Regions from separate parts of the Homo sapiens genome. Here regions 1, 2 and 3 are each linked to region 4. The links are contacts of gene promoters, found by promoter capture Hi-C in blood cells and fetal thymus (Javierre and others, 2016). All regions are on one chromosome and are shown on one strand. The core of a region is centred on a gene start or on the middle of the fragment in contact, and the rest is flanking DNA. Distances in the headings are between cores, read along the strand shown. Region 1 overlaps PDCD11 (programmed cell death 11). Region 2 overlaps TAF5 (TATA-box binding protein associated factor 5). Region 3 overlaps SH3PXD2A (SH3 and PX domains 2A). Region 4 holds the start of CYP17A1 (cytochrome P450 family 17 subfamily A member 1).

Region 1 (4,942 bases), core at 1,069-3,568, 570 kb before region 4:
AATAGACATTGTTCTAATCACTATGAACAGGAATTAGAACTACAATATCCAAAAATTTTAAACTAGCATCAAGGAATGAAAGAAGCAGAAATGGCCCCCTGTGCTCCAGAAGTCCTTCCAGTGATAAGATCCCTGACCAAACAAAGAGGCCTCCTTACCCGGGCATAGGCCAGAACCCCATCCTTCAGCCTAAAGGTGGCCCCAGCCTTTTTGAAAAAACCCTGGACAGGAACATCATCCAGCACTGCTCCAAGGTTCTGGCAAGAGAGTCGGGTGAGTGGGCGTCCAGGCTGTAGGAAGATGGGGCGCAGGCTCAGGTGCACAACTCTGGTTCGAGGATGGACGCAAAGGATGCAGGCCCTCACCTAGACAAAAGGAAGGGCAGGGTGAGCAGGAGGAGGCACACAGGAGCACCCTAGAGCAGACCTTCCAGGCATCAAGCCTTTCCACATGCTAACCAGGTATGTGAGTACTCACATCCTTAGTATGTAAGTACTCAAACTGGCTTCCACACTCAAGCAGAATGCAGAAAAATCAAAATGTCCCATAGGGACTATGTATGACTAAATCAAAGCTTACTCAAGCCAGGTATGGGTGGCTCACACTGGTAATCCCAGCACTTTGGGACACCAAGGCAGGTGGATCACTTGAGCTCAGGAGTTAGAGACCAGCCTGCGCACATAGTGAAACCCTGTCTCAACAAAAAATACAAAAATAGGCTGGGGATCATGGCTCACGCCTGTAATCCCAGCACTTTGGGAGTCTGAGGTGGGCAGATCACTTGAGATCAGGAGTCTGAGACAGCCCAGCCAACATGGCGAAACCTCATCTCTAGTTTTAATAAAAAAAAGTTAGGCTGGAAGCAGTGGCTGATGCCTATAATCCCAGCTCTTTGGGAGGCCGAAGCAGGCAGCAGGCAGATCACGAGGTCAGGAGATCAAGGCCATCCTGGCTAACACAGTGAAACCCCGTCTCTACTAAAAATACAAAAAATTAGCTGGGTGTGGTGGCACACACCTGTAATCCCAGCTACTCAGGAGGCTCAAGCAGGAGAATCGCTTGAACCCAAGAGGCGGAGACTGCAGTGAGCCAAGATCACGCCACTGCACTCCAGCCTGGGCGACAGAGCAAGACTCCGTCTCAAAAAAAAAAATTAGCCGGGCATGGTGGTACGTACCTGTAATTCCAGCTACTCAGGAGGCTGAGGCACAAGAATCACTTAAAATGGGGAGGCAGAGGTTGCAGTGAGCCAACACTGTGCCACTGCACTCCAGCCTGGGTGACAAAGTAAGACTCAGTCTCAAGAAAAAAAAAAAAAGTTAGCCAAGCATGGTGGCATGCACCACTTTGGGAGGCTGAGGCAGGAGAATCACCTGAGTGAGCCCAGGAGGTCAAGGCTGCAGTGAGTGATGATCGTGCCACTGCACTCCAGCCTGGGTGACAGAGTGAGACCCTGTCTCAAAAAATAATAATAAAATAAATAAATAAAAATTAGCCAGAAAGTTTACTCAAGGCCAGAAAACTATATACTAGGTGTCCCCTCAACACCAAGGAGCTGATGTATCTGTAATACAACAGAAACCATGTACTGGTGTCACTGCATCCAAGGCTCCTCTGAAACTAACAGAAAAAGCCTGATCTCATCATAACATTAAAAGATGTAAAATGTCTCAACTCTATACACAAATGCTTATAGGGTGAAAAAAATTACTAAAAAGAGGTTTAGGAAAATATTAACAGTATTACCACTAGGTAGTAGAAAATCCTAGTTTCACTTTAAAAAAAAATTCTCAGCTAGTTGTAGTGGCTGAAGCCTATAATCCCAGCACTTTAGGAGGCTAATCCCAGCACTTTAGGAGGCCTAGGCAGGAGGATCATTTGAGCCCAGGTGTTTAAGACCAGCCTGAGCAACACAGCGAGACCCCATCTCTATAAAACATAGCAAAAATTAGCTGGGCGTGGTGGCATGCATCCGTAGTCCCAGCTACTCAGGAGGCTGAGGTGGAAGGATCGCCTGAACCCAGGAGGTTGAGGTTGCAATTAACCGTGGTTGTGCCATTGTACTCCACTCTGGGCAATAGTGTGTGACCTTGTCTCAAAAAATAAATAAATAAATAAATTATCTATAGCACACATTACTATTTAAAAAAAGAAAAGTAAGAAATCATTTTAGAATTCTAAAAAATTCTGAATAACATATATTAGGATTTTCTTCCCAAATATCCATGTTCATTGTAGGAAATTTGAATATTTAAATACGAGCGGAGCCAGGGTTGTGGCTCACACCTGTAATCCCTGCACTTTGGGAGGCCAAGGTTGGGGGACTCCTTGAGCCCCGGAGTTCAAAACCAGTCTGGGCAACATGGCGAGACCTCGCCTGTAAAAATTTTTTTTTTTTTTTTTTTAAAGACAGAGTCTCACTCTGTCGCTCAGGCTGGGGTGCAGTGGCACAATCTCGGCTCACTGCAACCTCTGCCTCCTGGGTTCAAGCGATTCTCCTGCCTCAGTCTCCCGAGTAGCTGGGACTACAGGCACGCACCACCAGGTCTGGCTAATTTTTTTTATTTTTAGTAGAGACGGGGTTTCACCATGCTGGCCAGGCTGGTTTTGAACTCCTGACCTTGTGATCCTCCCACCTCGGCCTACCAAAGTGCTGGGATTATAGGCGTGAGCCACCACACCTGGCCTAAAAAAAATTTTTTTTAACTAGCCAGGCATTGTGGCACACATCTGTGGTCCTAGCTACTCTGAGGACTAAGGTGGGAGATCAATTGAGTCCAGGAGATTGAAGCTGCAGTGAGCCGTGTTTGCGCCACTGCACTCCAGCCTGGGTGACAGAGTAAGACACTGTCTTAAAAAAAAAAGAAAAAAAAAAAAAAGAAAAGAAAAGAAAAATCACCCAGAATTCATCACTATTAACACCTGATTGCCTAATATTCCAGTATTTTAACCAGAGGTACTTTTTAAAATTTTTTTCAAAGTTGGATCTATACTATACAACTTTTAAAATCACCTTTTGCTGTTTAAACGTATCTTATTCTCCTATGTTAAATATTCTTCTAAACTACTTTAAATTATAAAAACAAAAATACTACTACCACCAAAGGAAAAAAAAATCAAACTATATGGAAGACTATGAAGTAAAAACTGAAAGTTGCCTTCTTCTCCACCTGCTCCTTCTCTAATTTCAGTTCAGCCACTGAGAGTTTCTTACTTTCCTTCCATAACACTTTTTTTTTTTTTTTTGAGATGGAGTCTCGCTCTGTTGTCTAGGCTGGAGTGCAGTGGCACGATCTCAGCTCACTGCAACCTCGGCCTCCCGGGTTCAAGCGATTCTCCTGCCTCACCTTCCTGAGTAGCTGGGACTACAGGCATGCGCCACCACGCCTGGCTAATTTTTGTATTTTTAGTAGAGACGGGGTTTCACCATGTTGGCCAGGCTAGTCTTGAACTCCTGACCTTAAGTGATCCGCCCACCTCACCTCCTAAAGTGTTGGGATTACAAGCATGAGCCACTGCATCTGGCCTCCATAACACTTTTCATTATTCCTCTCATCTCCTCTCTGCACACCTGTATGCATGCAGTCCTAGGACCTCCCTGTAGCTAGCTGTGATACTGGACAGCAAATGGACCACAACTGGAATCAAGAAAATATAGGCTCAACATTTCTTACTGCCTGATTTGAGAAATATGTTCCAGCTTTCTTGGGATCCAGGTGCATAAAGTCAACCACGCCCGTGAAGAATGTGAGGAAGTTTAGCGTAAGGCCAAATGGAGTCACCTAGAAATAAACAGAACAAGTTATAAAAAAAAGTTCTTTGAAAGAACCAGGAATGTGAGACATTGCTCACAGTAAACACTCAATGCCATAGTATCCCTAACTGTGTATCTCTCCTCTCCCAGGTAACTCTTAACAATCTTTTCTTCCTATACAAATAACTGGCAGAACAATTCCTGCACTGGCTGTTTCTTTCCTTAGTAGGCTCACCTCCCTTCCAGCTAAGAGAGGACATCAATCCTCCCACTCTCTGGGAGTCCTCCATGGAATGGAAGAAGCTTTGTATATGTATCCTTGGGGAACTGCCAGCCTGACAACTGGAATAGATTGTTACTAACTTAGATATTTTCCCAGTATAGGAAGGTAAAAAAAAAAGGTTAAAAAAAAAAGGGCTTGCAAAAGGGAGATACTGACCACAAGCAAGCCAAGTCACCCTTATGGAGTCACCAAAAAGCGAAAAGTAACAATCCCCTCAAAAGATAGTGGTGAGGGAGATGAATGAAATCAGAGAACTAAGACCTCTCTCTTACCTTCCCGGAAAATACTAAACCTATTCTCTGGGAAAACTGTTACCAGAATCAAAAAACAGGAAAAGTGCAAATTCTGAAAATGTCAATTAAATTCTAAATATCATGTAAATATTCTTATGTCAATTAAATTCTAAATATCATGTAAATATCCAGCCCCTTTCTCGTACTCATTCTCGGGCAGCCAGGCTTAGACCCTCGTGGGTGGAGATTGCCAGATCCTTTCTAGAGAAATCTAACATGCCAGAGAAGACCTATAACAATCACATTAGGAGGTTGCCCAAATTAAATCTGCTAGTCCTGTTCCTGACAGGAAAGTTAAACGGTCAACAAGAAGGTGGGCGCAGTGGCTCATGCCTATAATCCTAGCACTCTGGGAGGCTGAGGCAGGTGGACCACCTGAGCTCAGGAGTTTGAGACCAGCCTGGCCAACACAGTGAAACCCTGTCTCTACAAAAATACAAAAATTAGCCAGGTGTGGTGGTGGGTGCCTGTAGTCCCAGCTACTCTGGAGGCTAACGCAGGAGAATCACTTGAACCTGGATGGTGGAGGCTGCAATGAGCCGAGATCATGCCACTGCACTCCAGCCTAGGTGACAGAGCAAGACTCTGTCTCAAAAATAAATAAATAAATAA
Region 2 (4,644 bases), core at 1,781-4,280, 540 kb before region 4:
AAAGATGCTATTTTCCCATGCTGTGTAAGCTATGTAAGAATTAAAAAGGAAATGTCTTTTGAAGAAAAAGAAAAAAAAACTACAGACATGCTAATAATTCTCTACCTTTTTCAAGCATAAACACAAAAGATTGATAGTCAGAAGGTTATTACAATTTTCACTGAAATCAGACGTTTCCCTCAAAAATGTATCATCTGGCAAAACCTTATCAAGCAACAAAAAACCTAATTCTCAAAGTTTCGTAATGATGAAACCTTGATGGATGGAAAGCTATTATCTTTTTTTCTTTTCTTCTTTTTTTGAGATGGAGTTTTGCTCTTATCACCCAGGCTGGAGTGCAGTGGTGCAATCTCGGCTCATTGCAACCTCTGCCTCCCATGTTCAAGTGACTTTCCTGCCTCGGCCTCCCAAGTAGCCAGGATTACAGGTGGGCGCCACCACACCCTGCTAATTTTTGTACTTTTTAGTGGAGACAGGATTTCCCATGTTGGCCAGGCTGGTCTCAAACTCCTGATCTCAGGTGATGCGCCTGTCTTGGACTCCCAAAGTGCTGGGATTATAGGCGTGAGCCACTGTGCCCGGCCTGAAAGCTATTATCTATCCAAGTAATATACTGATGGTATTATGAATACAAAACACCCTCCACCCATTTTTACAGTGTTAGAGATCATGAAAAATAGGCAAATACCTATACACATAGGATGACATTGTAATCATACACCTAAAGGGAAGCAAACCAATTTTGAATTTCCTTTTTCATTTACTCTTAGTACTTTTGATTATAGAAAGATTAATCCTCAATTACTAGCTAATATGCCATTAATGTCAGGAATTTGTCTTAAATTTGATGAAGCAGCCAGAAGACACAATGCAGGGACCCAATGAAGCAATTCAACCCCTAATGGAGTTCTATAAAACTAAAGCTTTGGTTGGTTATTTACCATTGGGTAACAAATAAAAATAATTAAAAAAAAAAAAGGGAAATACTAAAGCTAATTTTTAAAACCAGTAAGCCCTGAAACTGTGCATTTTGATTCTATAAATTTGAGTATACAGGCCAGGCACAGTGGCTCACGCCTGTAATCCCAGCACTTTGGGAGGCTGAGGTGGGCAGATCACCTGAGGTTGAGAGTTCAAGACCAGCCTGACCAACATGGAGAAACCCCATCTCTAATAAAAAAATAAAATTAGCCAGGTGTGGTGGCGCATGCCTGTAATCCCAGCTACTCAGGAGGCTGAGCCAGGAGAATCGCTTGAACCCAGGAGGCGGAGGTTGCGGTAAGCCAAGATCACGCCATTGCACTCCAACCTGGGCAACAAGAGCGAAACTCTGTCTCAAAAAAAAAAAAAAAAAAGTGAGTATACATTAAATTGCTACCATGTACAAACACCAGGATTCAAAGATGAATTAGCAAATGGCAAGATTCTAAAAGATGATGAACGTCAGACAACCATGAGATTTTTATCAGAATTTTCCCAGCATTTGCATAATGTTTCCAGTAGTTAACTTTTATATAATTTCAATATAACATAGCAGTATTTAATTTTTATTGTTTGTATTTTACCTATCCGGACTGAAGCTGGCTCCGTAGACAGGCCCACTGTGACCATACAAAATCTTCAACTCACTTGCTGTTTTCTCATCCATGATTCTTTCTAAGACATCATCTGATTCTTTGTCTATAAGACTAAGATCTAAAATGGTCCAGAAATATTGATATTTTATAAGTACATTCATCAAAACTTTTAAAGTAATCATATCACAGTGCAGGAGAGGAATTAACATTTGAAAATTTCCTCCTATATACCAACCGCACTTTGCTAATCCCTCTAAATTAGGCAGTATCATCTCAGCGTGTAAGAGAAGAAAATGACGTTCAGAACAGATAATTTGCTAGAGTGCACACAGCTACTCAGTGTGGGAACCAGAACTGAAACTCAGTTTTGCCCACTATGCCACAGTGTTTCACAAAATGAAAACTATGGGCCAGGCATGGTGGCTCACACCTGTAGTCTCAGAATTTTGGTAGGCCAAGGCGGGCAGATTGCTTGAGCCCAGAGGAGTTCGAGACCAGCCTGGACAACATGGAGAAACCCTGTCTCTACAAAAAATAAAAAATTAGCCAGTGTGGTTGCACACACCTGTAGTCTCAGCTACTCAGGAGGCTGAAGTGGGAGGATCACTTCAGCCCAGGGATTAGAGGCTGCAGTGAGCCGTGATCACACCACTGCATTCTAGCCTGGGCAACAGAGTGAGACCCCATCTAAAAAAAATTTAAAATTAAAAAAAAAAAACCTATGGAAATATTGAAATAATTTAAAATATATTGTTTTATTTAAATAATATAGTTAGTAAAAAACTTTATTTCAGGCCGGGTGTGGAGGCAGGAAAATCGCTTGAACCAGGGAGGTGGAGGTTGCAGTGAGCCACCTATAATTCCAGCACTTTGGGAGGCCAGACAGGCGGATCACTTGAGGTCAGGAGTTCGAGACCAGCCTGGCCAACATGGCGAAACCCTATCTCTACTAAAAATACAAAAATTACCTGGGCATGGTGGTGGGCACCTGTAATCCCAGCTACTGGGGAGCTGGGGAGCTGACACAAGAAAATCCCTTGAACCTGGGAGGTAGAGGCTGTAGTGAGCCAAGACTGCGCCATTGCACTCTAGCCTGGGTGACAGGGCGAGACTCTGTCTCAAAAAAACAAAAAGTAAAAAACTTTCAAATAAAATCCTGACCTTATTTGTTCTTTTTAGCCATTTTTATGACTAAAACAGGAAGTACCATCCCTTATTTAAAGATTTTTTAAGATTTACAAGCAATCATAAAATGTTAGATTTTTAACTTTAAGTTTTTTAGCTTAATACTCACTCATTCTACAGATGAGAAAACTGAGACCTAAAGAAATTAAACCAGTCTAGCACCCCAGTCACTCCAAAGCTTTTTTCACTGTTGGGAATGTTAGAATCTTGAGTTAAAGTAAAATCAAGTGAATTTCTGTAAAGAACACAATCTCCTGTGTATTTTCCATGGAATCAAGATTGGTATAGACTAATGGCAAGTTCACATTCCAAAAGGTCATCTCAGTTACCTGATGCTTGTTTGACACTACGAAGCTTTTTGGGTGTTACCGACCACACTCTGACAGTTGAATCTGCAAAACCTCCAGCAATCAGACTAGAATCATCAGTGACATCCACTGCAGTGAGACCCTGCCAATAAAAGGGTTAGACTAAACAATACTATTTTAGGATATTTAGAGATAGGAAGCAAATGTTAATCATTTTCACACTATACTAAATATCTCCTCAATCCTCTATTTTAAGGAATATATAAAGACTTTTAAAATTCTTGATTTAAAATATTGGCCAAGCGCACTGGCTCATGCCTGTAATCCCAACAATTTGGGAGGCTGAGACAGGTGGATCACCTGAGGTTAGGAGTTCAAGACCAGCCTGGCCAACATGGTGAAACCCCATCTCTACTAAAAATACCAAAATTAGCCAAGCAGGGTGGTGGGCACCTGTAATCCCATCTACTTGTGAGGCTGACGCAAGAGAATCACTTGAACCCAGGAGGCAGAGGTTGCAGTGAGCCAAAATCGTGCCACTGCACTCCAGCCTGGGCGACAGAGTGAGACTCCATCTCAAAAAAAAAATAATAATAAAATAAAATACTAAGTTTGGCCGGGCGCGGGGGTTCATGCCTGTTATCACAGCACTTTAGGAGGCTGAGGCGGGTGGATTGCCTGAGCTCAGGAATTCAAGTCCAGCCTGGTCAACCTGGTGAAACCCCTTCTCTACTGAAAATACAAAAATTAGCTGGGCGTGGTGGCTCATGCCTATAATCCCAGCTACTCAGGAGGCTGAGGCAGGAGAATCACTTGAACTGGGAGGCGGAGGTTGCAGTGAGCCAAAATTGCACCACCGCACTCCAGCCTAGGTGTCAGAGCAAGACTCCATCTCAAAAAATGAAATTAAATTAAAATAATAAAATAAAATAAGGTTTATATGGCTGGGCACGGTGGCTCACGCCTGTAATCCCAGCACTTTGGGAGGCTGAGGCGGCCAGATCACTTGAGGTCAGGAGTTCAAGACCAGCCTGGGCAACACGGCAAAATCCTGTCTCTACTAAAAATACAAAAATTAGCCAGGCATGGTGGAGGGTGCCTGTAATCCCAGCTATTCAGGAGGCCGAGGCTGAGGCACAAGAATCGTTTGAACCCGGGAGGCAGAGGTTGCAGTGAGCTGAGATCTCACCTCTGCACTCCACCCTAGGTGACAGCACAAAACTCTGTCTCAAAAAAAAAAAAAAATTGATAAATAAGTTTACGTAAGTACTTAAACCAAGTTCAACAGAAATGAACTACAATTTGCTCCTCCTCAAAGGCTAGCAGAATTCTGATCGGTGAAACAAATGCCATTAAACATTGACTTCTATCTATTCTGTGCAGTATCCAATTCTCTCTTCCTGAATGCTGTCTTTAAATTGTATAAGAGTTTAGGGGCCACATGCGGTGGCTCATGCCTGTAATCCCAGCACTTTGGGAGGCTGAGGCAGGCGGATCACAAGGTCAGGAGATCGAGACCATCCTGGCTAACACGGTGAAACCCCATCTCTACTAAAAATACAAAAAATTAGCCG
Region 3 (5,008 bases), core at 513-3,012, 850 kb before region 4:
TCCCAGCACTTTGGGAGACCGAGGCAGGTGGATCACCTGAGGTCAGGAGTTTGAGACCAGCCTGGCCAACATGGCAAAACCCCGTCTCTACTAAAAATACAAAAAATTAGCTGGACGTGGTGGCGGGTGCTTGTAATCCCAGCTACTGAGGAGGCTGAGGCAGGGAGAATCTTGAACCCAGGAGGTGGAGGTTGCAGTGAGCCGAGATCATGCCATTGCACTCCAGCTTGGGCAACAGAGCGAGGCTCTGTCTCAAAAAAAAAAAAAAAAAAAATTCCCCAGCAACACCTAAATTAGTGTGTGATTGCATAACTGGGGACAGTAGCTTAGCCAGGTTGATGTGTACCACCTGACCATCATACCTGTCAAATGGGGTTGTTATAGTAGCAGCGACCTGGCTTGCCCCAAAGTGCACAGGGTTCAAGGAGGTGATGCCCTTTGAGGGGTTTTGTGCTGTGCCTGGCAGTAGGAAGGGCCTGTTGTTGTTAGCTGTTGTTGCTTCCCCAAGGTGGGCACTGCTCCAGGAGCCCCAGTGGGGCTGGAGCAGACTCCCCAGAGCAAGGGGTTCTCTTGAGACCTGCAAAGATCTCATGCCTCTCACCCAGTTCTCTAAAAAGCTGCATTTCGCCAGGGCACCTAGCCGGGAAGTTCTGAGATGCGCCACTAGGGGGCACAGGTGGCCACGGAGCCTCGGGATTGTCAGGGCCCTGGGGCTGTTGTCAGGAGAGCCTGAGGGTTCATCCAACCCAGGAGTCCTGTGGAAGCTCCAGCTCGTTTACATGCAGATGAGGTTGCTCAAGAGTGTTGTTACAAGCTTGTTCTCTTAGGCAAGTGTTGATGTTCCTCATGAAATCCTGTTTACTTTATTCTTCTCCTTGGAAAAGTGGTGAGCTCAGCCCCACTTCTATCTCAGTGATCATAAAACTGTATTATTAGCTGAGTTCATGAGATCAGCATTAATGTAGTTTCACTGCAGAGAAGCAGTGTTGCCTGGGGTTGACAGTTTAGGTTTTGGCAACAGGAAGACAGGGTTTGAACCCCAGCTCTGCCATTTGTTATTGCCGTTTTAATTATTGATAGATTAAGAAAGAAGGGGAGAAGTTGGTCTTTGAGTTGAGACATTTATTTCCATTCTGTGAGACCCAGGAGGGGACGACAGGGCGTAGACTCAGCCATTGCTGAGTATTCCGTTGAGTTAAAAACGTGGACTCTGGAGCCAGAATGCTTAGTTTCATGTCCCGGCTCTGCCTGCTGTGTGATCTTGGGCAAGTCCTTCTCTATGGCTCATTTCTTCACCTGTAAAATAGGGATAATCAGGTTTTTTTCATGGGGTTGAGGATTGAGTGAAAGTTCCTGAAGTGATAACTCCAGCACCGTGCCTGGCCTAGAGGAAGCACTAAGGGTGAAGCAGCTTTTACTATGAATAGGAGGCAGCACCGGAGGGGTTCGTCTCAAACAGGAGAGAGCGCTGGTTTCAGCTTTTGCCCTTTCTCCGGAGTGACTCCTCAATCAGACAGGGGGAAGGTGGGGTGTCCACTATCTCATCATTGCCAGGAGCCTCCCTGCAACAACCAGGGTAGGTGGTCTTGTCCCATTTTATAGACCAGGAAAGGGAAGTTAAGGAACTTGCCCCAGGTCAGCCAGACACAGGATTCTCTTTTTTTTTTTTTTTTTTTTTTTTTGAGACAGAGTTTTGCTGTTTGCCTGGGCTGGAGTGCAGTGGCACAATCTCAGCTCACTGCAACCTCCACCTCCTGGGTTCAAGTGATTCTCCTGCCTCAGCCTCCCAAGTAGATGGAATTATAGGCGTCCGCCACCATGCCCAGCTAATTTTTTGTATTTTTAGTAGAGATGGGATTTCACCATGTTGGCTAGGCTGGTCTTGAACTCCTGACCCCAGGTGATCCACCCACCTTGGCCTCCCAAAGTGCTGGGATTACAGGTGTGAACCACCATGACTGGCCTTTTTTTTGTTTTTGTTTTTGTTTTTGCTTTTTTGAGACAGGGCCCCAGGCTCTGTCGTTCAGACTGGAGTGTGGTGGCACAACCACAGCTCACTGCAGACTTGACCTCCTGGCTTCAAGCAATCCTCTCACCTCAGCCTTCTGAGTAGTTGGGACTACAGACATGCACCACCACGTCCAGTTAGTTTTTGTAGAGACAGGGTCTCGCTATGTTGCCCAGGGTGGTCTTGAACTCCTAGGATCAAGTGACTATCCTGCCTCGGCCTCCCAAAGTGCTGGGATTACAGGTGTGAACCGCAGCACACAGCCTAATTTTCCTTTTTATGAGTTTGGTTTTTAATAAAGTGAATTTGCTTAGAGCAAGACCCGCCCATAAGTTCTGGCCACTATTAAGGGTTAGTCTATGGCCGGGCGTGGTGGCTCGCTCCTGTAATCCTAGCACTTTGGAAGACCGAGGCAGTTGGATCTCCTGAGATCAGGAGTTCAAGACCGACATGATGAAACCTCGTCTCTACTAAAAATACGAAAAATTAGCCGGATGTGGTGGCCCGCACCTGTAATCCCAGCTACTCGGGAGGCTGAGGCAGGAGAATCACTTGAACCCAGGGGGCGGAGTTTGCAGTGAGCCAAGATGGTGCCACTGCACTCCAGCCTGGGTGACAGAGTGAGATTCCGTCTCAAAAAAAAAAAGGGTTAGTCTACCTGAAAAAGTTCCTCTATTCTCCTCCTTTTATAGAGGAAGCTTTTAAGAGAGGGATGGCCACTTGCCCAGGGTATGGGGTGGGCAGAACCTGGTCTTCTGCTGGTCAGCACTCCCACCAAGCCCTGGAACCAGGTGGAAGTGTGAGGAGGGCTGTCAGGTGGAAGTGTGAGGAGGGCTGTCCTGAAGCACAGGAAGCCGGTCTGTGAGGTCTCTGGTACCTCCCTTCCCCGCAAGGTAAATACCTCAGCAGGGCACTAGCAGAGCTGGGCTCTCTGGCCCTCCCTGGGCCTGCCCTGCCCAACCAGCAGCAGAGGGAGATGGAGGGAGACGAGGCAGTGGCAGCAGGCCTCCTCCCTCCAGAGCGCAGGCTTTGTGAGGCTTTCACTTCTCTTAATAGTTTGTTGGCTCCTGGCCCCATGGAGTGCACAGCTCAACTGAGAAGGTGGGACCTTTTCAGGGATTCATTAATACTAGGCAGGATGGCTTGGGATCTGCAAGGTGGAAGGAGGGGTGGCTGGCCATTGTGGGAGAGGCTGGAGATGGCCCTGAAGGACAGAGGAGATTGTGATGGGCTGAAGGGTGTGGGTAGGGCACCCTGCAGGAGGGACAGCCAGGCATGAGTAAGGATGTGGAGCTGGAATGAGTTTTTGCTTTTTTGTTGTTGTTGTGGGTTTTTCTGGTGTTAATTTTTAACATGGGGTCTTACTTAATGGCCCAGGCTGGAGTGCAGTGGTGCGATCAGGGCTCACTGTGGCCTTAAATTCCTGGGCTCAAGCGATCTTCCCACCTCATCCTCCCAAGTAGGTGGAACCACTGGTGTGCCACCATGCCTGGCTTATTTATTTATGTAGGAGACAGTCTTGCTCTGTCACCCAGGCTAGAGTGCAGTAGCCCAATCTCGATTTACTGCAACCTCCGCTTCTCAGCTCTCGTGCCTCAGCCTCCCAAGTAGCTGGGACTACAGGCACCCGCCACCATGCCTGGCTAATTTTTTTGTATTTTAGTAGAGATGGGGTTTCTCTGTGTTGCCCAGGGTCGTCTTGAACTCCTGAGCTCAGGCAGTCCACCCGCCTCAGCCTCCCAGAATGCTAGGATTACAGGTGTGAGCCACCATTTCTAGCCTTTATTTTTTATTACTGATTTGTTTATTTATTTGGTAGAAACAGGGTCTCGCTTTGTTGCCCAGGCTGGTGTTGAATTCCAGGCCTCAAGTGATCCTCCTGCCTCAGCCTCCTAAAGTGTTGGGATTACAGACGTGAGCCACCACACCTGGCCTGGCATGAGCTTGAAAAGTCTGAGGGAAGGAGAGGGGCCCATCATCCCGGCAGGAGCGAGGGTAGAGCAGGAGATGAGTCTGGAAAGGAAGTCATGGAGAGTGTATCATAAGCAAGACCTTTTAAAGCAATTTCCGAGGCGTTCTTGTCCTCCTGAGCTACCCATCCTCAGTGAGAAAGGCCCAGGCTACTTAGAGAATGTGGCAAAGATCTTCCTGCCACCCTCCAATGGCCCATTTCAAAAGTGAGCGTGTCTTTTGAAGGCGTCAGCTTCTGGCACATCTTACCCAGGCTCGTGGTTTGTTTTGTTTTTTTTTTTTTTGAGACGGAATCTGGCTCTGTTGCCCAGGCCGGAGTGCAATGGCACGATCTCGGCTCACTGCAACCTCTGCCTCCCAGGTTCAAGCAATTCTCCTGCCTCCGCCTCCTGAATAGCTGGGATTACAGATGCATGCCACCATGCCTGGCTAATTTTTTGTATTTTTAGTAGAGATGGGATTTCACCATGTTGGCCAAGCTGGTCTTGAACTCCTGACCTTGTGATCCACCCTCTTCGGCCTCTCAAAGTGCTGCGATTACAGGCATGAGCCACCGCAGCCAGCCTCTGGGCTGGTGTTTTTAAACAGTTTTTATTTGCATGGCTCTGGGTCCTCAGCCTGATTTTACCCTTGGAGTTCAAAGCCATCTAATTGGAAATGAAAGGAGCCTGATTGATTTGGCAACTCTGCGGCCAGCCCACGTGGCGGTGATGCGATGGAGAAAGTGAGTGCTGCTCACGTGTGTGTCTGCGCCACGCTCCCTGGCTCGAGGTGGCTGAGCCCCACTGCCCAATTGGCCTGGACACACAGAGCAAGGCGGAGCGGGGAGGGGGCAGGGGCGTGGCAAGCGCTCCCCGGATCCTGGAATCCCCAGAAGGAGGCAGCTAGTTGGAAGCCTCAATTCCCTCAGCCCTGCTTGCACAGCTGCCTCTGCCCCCTCACTCCTATCACCCAGTTTCTCCTGCTAGGAAAATAGGAAGTTGGTCCAAAAGGGAACTGCATGGGCAAAAGTGAACTGCAGAATCTTGA
Region 4 (4,789 bases), core at 1,974-4,473:
GGAGGACGAGGATCATCATCCTACTTTGCATAGGAGGTTCAGCTCATTCTGTCCCTTAAAATGGGAAGATAAGAGCATTACCCCCTGCCACCCGAGGCCTCTTATGATATCCCCCATTCTGAGCCCAGAACACCCAGAACTTTGGAAATTGGCTATTGCCATGTCCAGACTGCGAGTATGGGAAGGGGAAACTTTTCTTTCTGTTGTCCCCACTACCACCCCTCACATCCGTGATTCTGAAACCCATGATAAATCCCCTTTGGACCATTTTCCTCTTTTTGATGCCAGTCCTCCTTTATGGGACTCTGATTGGCATTATGATAATTCTTCTGGACCCAGGTATGTCCCCCTACCTCTTCAGAATCCCCGGGCACCTCGGATTGCTTCTTTACGGCATCAAACATTGGGCGTTGCCACCGCCACTCCTCCCCCTCGGTATCAACGTAGATTCAAACATTCTGCTTTGTTTACCTCCAGCCTGACTATTATACAGAGTTGTGTTAAGCCTCCTTACATGCTGTTAGTGGGAAATATCAAAATTTGGATGAACAATCAAACCGTCCAATGCATTAATTGTCATTTATCCACTTGTGTTAACTCCCGTTTTGACTCAGGAAAAGTGTAATGTTGGTTCGAGCTTGAGAAGGAATCTGGATACCAGTAACTTTACCCAGAACTTGGGAATCTTCCCCCTCAGTACATTTAATTAATGAAGTGTTACAACGAATTCTCAAAAGATCAAGAGATTTGTTTTCACTTTAATCACTGTGATCATGGGCCTAATTACAGTCACTGCACTGGCCACCACTGCCGGAGTGGCATTACACCAATCTATTCAAATGGCTAATTTTGTTAATGATTGGTAAGGCAATTCCACCCAAATGTGGAATCCTCAACAAGGCATTGATCAAAAATTAGCTAATGATTTAAGACAGTCTGTTATTTGGCTTGGGGACCAGCTAATGAGTCTCGAACATCACATGCAAATGCAGTTCGATTGCAACACTTCTGATTTCTATAGCACACCATATTCCTACAACGAGACTGATCATGGGAAATGGTCAAAGGACACCTTCTGGGTAGGGAAGATAATTTATCCTTGGACATAACTAAATTAAAGAAACAAATTTTTGAAGCCTCTCAAGCTCATTTATCCATTGTGCCTGGAGCTGAGGCGTTAGATCAGGTGGCAGAAAGTCTTTCTGGACTAAACTCCACAACTTGGATTAAGTCTACTGGGGGCTCCACTGTAGGAAATTTTGGAATCATGTTTCTCTGTTTAATCGGCTTGTTTTTAGTGTGCCAGACCAGTCAAAGAATCCTGCATCAAAACCGAGAGAACGAGCAAGCCTTCATCGCCACGGCACATTTATATAAAAAGAAAGGGAGAGATGTTGCGGGAAGTCAGGGACCCTGAATGGAGGGACTGGCTGGAGCCATGGCAGAGGAACATAAATTGTGAAGATTTCATTTTAATATGGACATTTATCAGTTCCCAAATAATACTTTTATAATTTCTTATGCCTGTCTTTACTTTAATCTCTTAATCCTGTTATCTTTGTAAGCTGAGGATGTTTGTCACTTCAGGACCACTGTGATAATTGTGTTAACTGTACAAATTGATTGTAAGACATGTGTTTGAACAATATGAAATTAGTGCACCTTGAAAAAGAACAGAATAAGAGCAATTTTTAGGGAACAAGGGAAAACAACCATAAGGTCTGACTGCCTGCAGGGTCGGGCAGAAAGAGCCATATTTTCCTTCTTGAGAGAGGCTATAAATGGACATGCAAGTAGGGAAGATATCACTAAATTCTTTTCCTAGCAAGGAGTATTATTATTAATACCCTGGGAAAGGAATGCATTCCTGGGGGGAGGTCTATAAACAGCCGCTCTGGGAATGTCTATCTTGTGCAGTTGAGATAAGGACTGAGATACGCCCTGGTCTCCTGCAGTACCCTCAGGCTTACTAGGGTGGGGAAAAACTCCGCCCTGGTAAATTTGTGGTCAGACCGGTTCTCTGCTGTCGAACCCTGTTTGCTGTTGTTTAAGGTGTTTATCAAGACAGTATGTGCACCGCTGAACATAGACCCTCATCTGTAGTTCTGCTTTTGCCCTTTGCCTTGTGATCTTTGTTGGACCCTTATCAGTGGTTCTGCTTTTGCCCTTTGCCTTGTGATCTTTGTTGGACCCTTATCGGTAGTTCTGCTTTTGCCCTTTGTCCTTTCCCTCAGAAGCATGTGATCTTTGTTAGACACTTATTAGTAGTTCTGCTTTTCGCCCTTTGAAGCATGTGATCTTTGTACCTACTCCCTGTTCTTACACCCCCTCCCCTTTTTGAAACCCTTAATAAAAACTTGCTGGTTTGAGGCTCAGGTGGGTATCACAGTCCTACCGATATGTGATGCCACCCCCGGCGGCCCAGCTGTAAAATTCCTCTCTTTATACTGTCTCTCTTTATTTCTCAGCCGGCTGACACTTATAGAAAGAACCTACGTTGAAATATTGGGGGTGGGTTCCCCCAGTACGCTAGTCCTGCTGATGAGCAAAGAAGGTGTTGATGGCATTTTGATCAACAAGAAATGTTATGAAACGGCCTCCCACCTCTGGCATTCCTAGTACTGACCTATCTCTCCCTTCCCTTCCACCGCTCCCCACAGCTTAGCACCCCTTTCGTTCCCATACACATGTACATTTTTATTTTGGGGACCATTAACCCACAGCCCTTATCGCTGCCAAAACCACATGGGCTGGAGGGCCAGGGCTGCATGGACAGTCACACCACTGCACACCAGCCTGGTGATGGAGCAAGACTCTGAAAAAAAAAAAAAGAAGCATAAAAGACCTTTAACAGTCCCTGCTACTTGTGACCCTCCTGAATCTGTCATCTGTCCAGTGATTTTGATTTTGCAACATGGAAAGTTCCAAGCCTTGACTCCTGAGCCCAGATACCATTCGCACTCTGGAGTCATTCAAGCATGGGGAGCTCCTCAGAGGGTGATCAACTGACCTCCCTTACCTAGCTCCTCCTCCGGAGGTTTGCCCTGGAGTTGAGCCAGCCCTTGAGGAGGCCTTCACTCCCACCGCCTCTCTCCCTTCTGGATATGAGCTCAGGCCTGGCTGGGCTCCAGGAGAATCTTTCCACAAGGCAAGAGATAACACAAAGTCAAGGTGAAGATCAGGGTAGCCCTTTAAAAGGCCTCCTTGTGCCCTAGAGTTGCCACAGCTCTTCTACTCCACTGCTGTCTATCTTGCCTGCCGGCACCCAGCCACCATGTGGGAGCTCGTGGCTCTCTTGCTGCTTACCCTAGCTTATTTGTTTTGGCCCAAGAGAAGGTGCCCTGGTGCCAAGTACCCCAAGAGCCTCCTGTCCCTGCCCCTGGTGGGCAGCCTGCCATTCCTCCCCAGACACGGCCATATGCATAACAACTTCTTCAAGCTGCAGAAAAAATATGGCCCCATCTATTCGGTTCGTATGGGCACCAAGACTACAGTGATTGTCGGCCACCACCAGCTGGCCAAGGAGGTGCTTATTAAGAAGGGCAAGGACTTCTCTGGGCGGCCTCAAATGGTAAGTGGTGCCCATCTCCTCCCTGCCCCCTTCACCACCCCCTGGGATTGTTCAGGTCTTCAGACCATGCCTAGAATGGGGCTTCCAGCTCCAACAACCTGTAATTCTTCCCAAAGTAGACTAGTGGGATGATGTGAAGGGAGTGAACCTTCAGACCCCCACCCAGCCTCTAAATTAGGCAGGAAGAATTAAAGGAATGTCTCCTCTACCAGGCTGCCCAGGAGGTGGGATGGGAGGACCACAGTGGTCTGAGGGGTCAAGGAATCCTCACTCCACTCCTCTCTCTGAGCCTAGACTTCTCTAATGGACTGAGAAGGTGCATGTACAGCACTTAGCCTAGCACCCAGCACAGTAAGTGCCCCTTATACAGCCAGGATTCATGTTACTTTTCATGGAAAATGGGGGCAGTGACTACTGTCCTCCATGAAAGCTGCTGGGGAGAATTAGCCTAGCTATTGCAGGCTGGGATTGCTGCTTTCCTGGTGCTATTTCCAGCTACTCAGGCTCACAGGGGCAGTTTTCTACAATGACATTTCAGGGTTGCTGATGAGCCTCCCACTCAGCAGGGCCCCCAGCCTCTCAGCATTTTTTTTTTTTTTTTTTTTTTTTGAGACAGAGTCTCTCTCTGTCGCCCAGCCTGGAGTGCAGTGGCCAATCTCAGCTCACTGCAACCTCTGCCTCCCGGGTTCAAGTGATTCTCCTGCCTCAGCCTCCTGAGTACCTGGGACTACAGGAGCATGCCACCATGCCCGCTAATTTTTTGTATTTTTAGTAGAGATGGTGTTTCACCATGTTAGCCAGGATGGTCTCGATCTCCTGACCTCGTGATCCTCCCACCTTAGCCTCCCAAAGTGCTAGGATTATAGGCGTAAGCCACTGTGCCCTGCCAGCCTCTCAGCTTTGATCAAGCCAAGGGTTGGTTTATTTTTTCTTGGACCAATCAGCCAGGTCTGCTGACCAACTACCTAGCTCCCACCTCTGCTGGCTTCCTCCCGGGGGCAGAGAAGATGGAGAAGGCTAGTCATGTGGATCTTCAGGGTCAGGAAATGGAAAAGGGAGGCTTTGGACCCTTTTGCTTTGGGGGGCACCTCTAGGAGGAGGCGGCTCGGCCCAAGTCCAGACTGGGTAGACAAAACATCTGCACTCTCCAAATGTGGGCTTGTGGCTGGGTATGCAGGCTTGCAATGGAAGGGTAAACCTGAGTGAGGTGAGCTGTGC

Evidence for each region. The method cuts DNA at HindIII sites, captures the fragments that hold promoters and counts their contacts. A CHiCAGO score of 5 or more calls a contact.
Region 1: a fragment that was not itself captured here is called in contact with the fragment with the promoter of CYP17A1 in region 4 in 2 of 17 cell types (erythroblasts and M2 macrophages); the score reaches 5.7 in erythroblasts.
Region 2: a fragment that was not itself captured here is called in contact with the fragment with the promoter of CYP17A1 in region 4 in 2 of 17 cell types (erythroblasts and M1 macrophages); the score reaches 6.0 in erythroblasts.
Region 3: a contact is called between a fragment that was not itself captured here and the fragment with the promoter of CYP17A1 in region 4, in 1 of 17 cell types (neutrophils). The highest score is 5.7, in neutrophils.

The regions. Positions count from the first base shown.
Region 1 is chr10:103,408,539-103,413,480 of GRCh38, reverse strand. PDCD11 (programmed cell death 11) reads right to left here. Exons shown (of 36, transcript NM_014976.2): 8 at 3,675-3,782; 9 at 159-365. Among named protein-coding and RNA genes, the nearest start is that of PDCD11, 14 kb to the right of the region's middle. The HindIII fragment of the contact is 3,483 bases long and covers 577-4,059 here.
Region 2 is chr10:103,380,289-103,384,932 of GRCh38, reverse strand. TAF5 (TATA-box binding protein associated factor 5) reads right to left here. Exons shown (of 11, transcript NM_006951.5): 6 at 3,092-3,212; 7 at 1,566-1,695. Among named protein-coding and RNA genes, the nearest start is that of MIR1307, 12 kb to the left of the region's middle. The HindIII fragment of the contact is 176 bases long and covers 2,943-3,118 here.
Region 3 is chr10:103,682,012-103,687,019 of GRCh38, reverse strand. The region is part of intron 6 of SH3PXD2A (SH3 and PX domains 2A); the gene reads left to right. Among named protein-coding and RNA genes, the nearest start is that of SH3PXD2A-AS1, 62 kb to the left of the region's middle. RefSeq lists enhancers at 350-399, 3,030-3,099, 4,259-5,008. The HindIII fragment of the contact is 1,892 bases long and covers 817-2,708 here.
Region 4 is chr10:102,835,847-102,840,635 of GRCh38, reverse strand. CYP17A1 (cytochrome P450 family 17 subfamily A member 1) reads left to right here and starts at 3,223. Exons shown (of 8, transcript NM_000102.4): 1 at 3,223-3,571. The coding sequence starts at 3,275. RefSeq lists a promoter at 2,984-3,263. The HindIII fragment of the contact is 11,808 bases long and covers 1-4,789 here.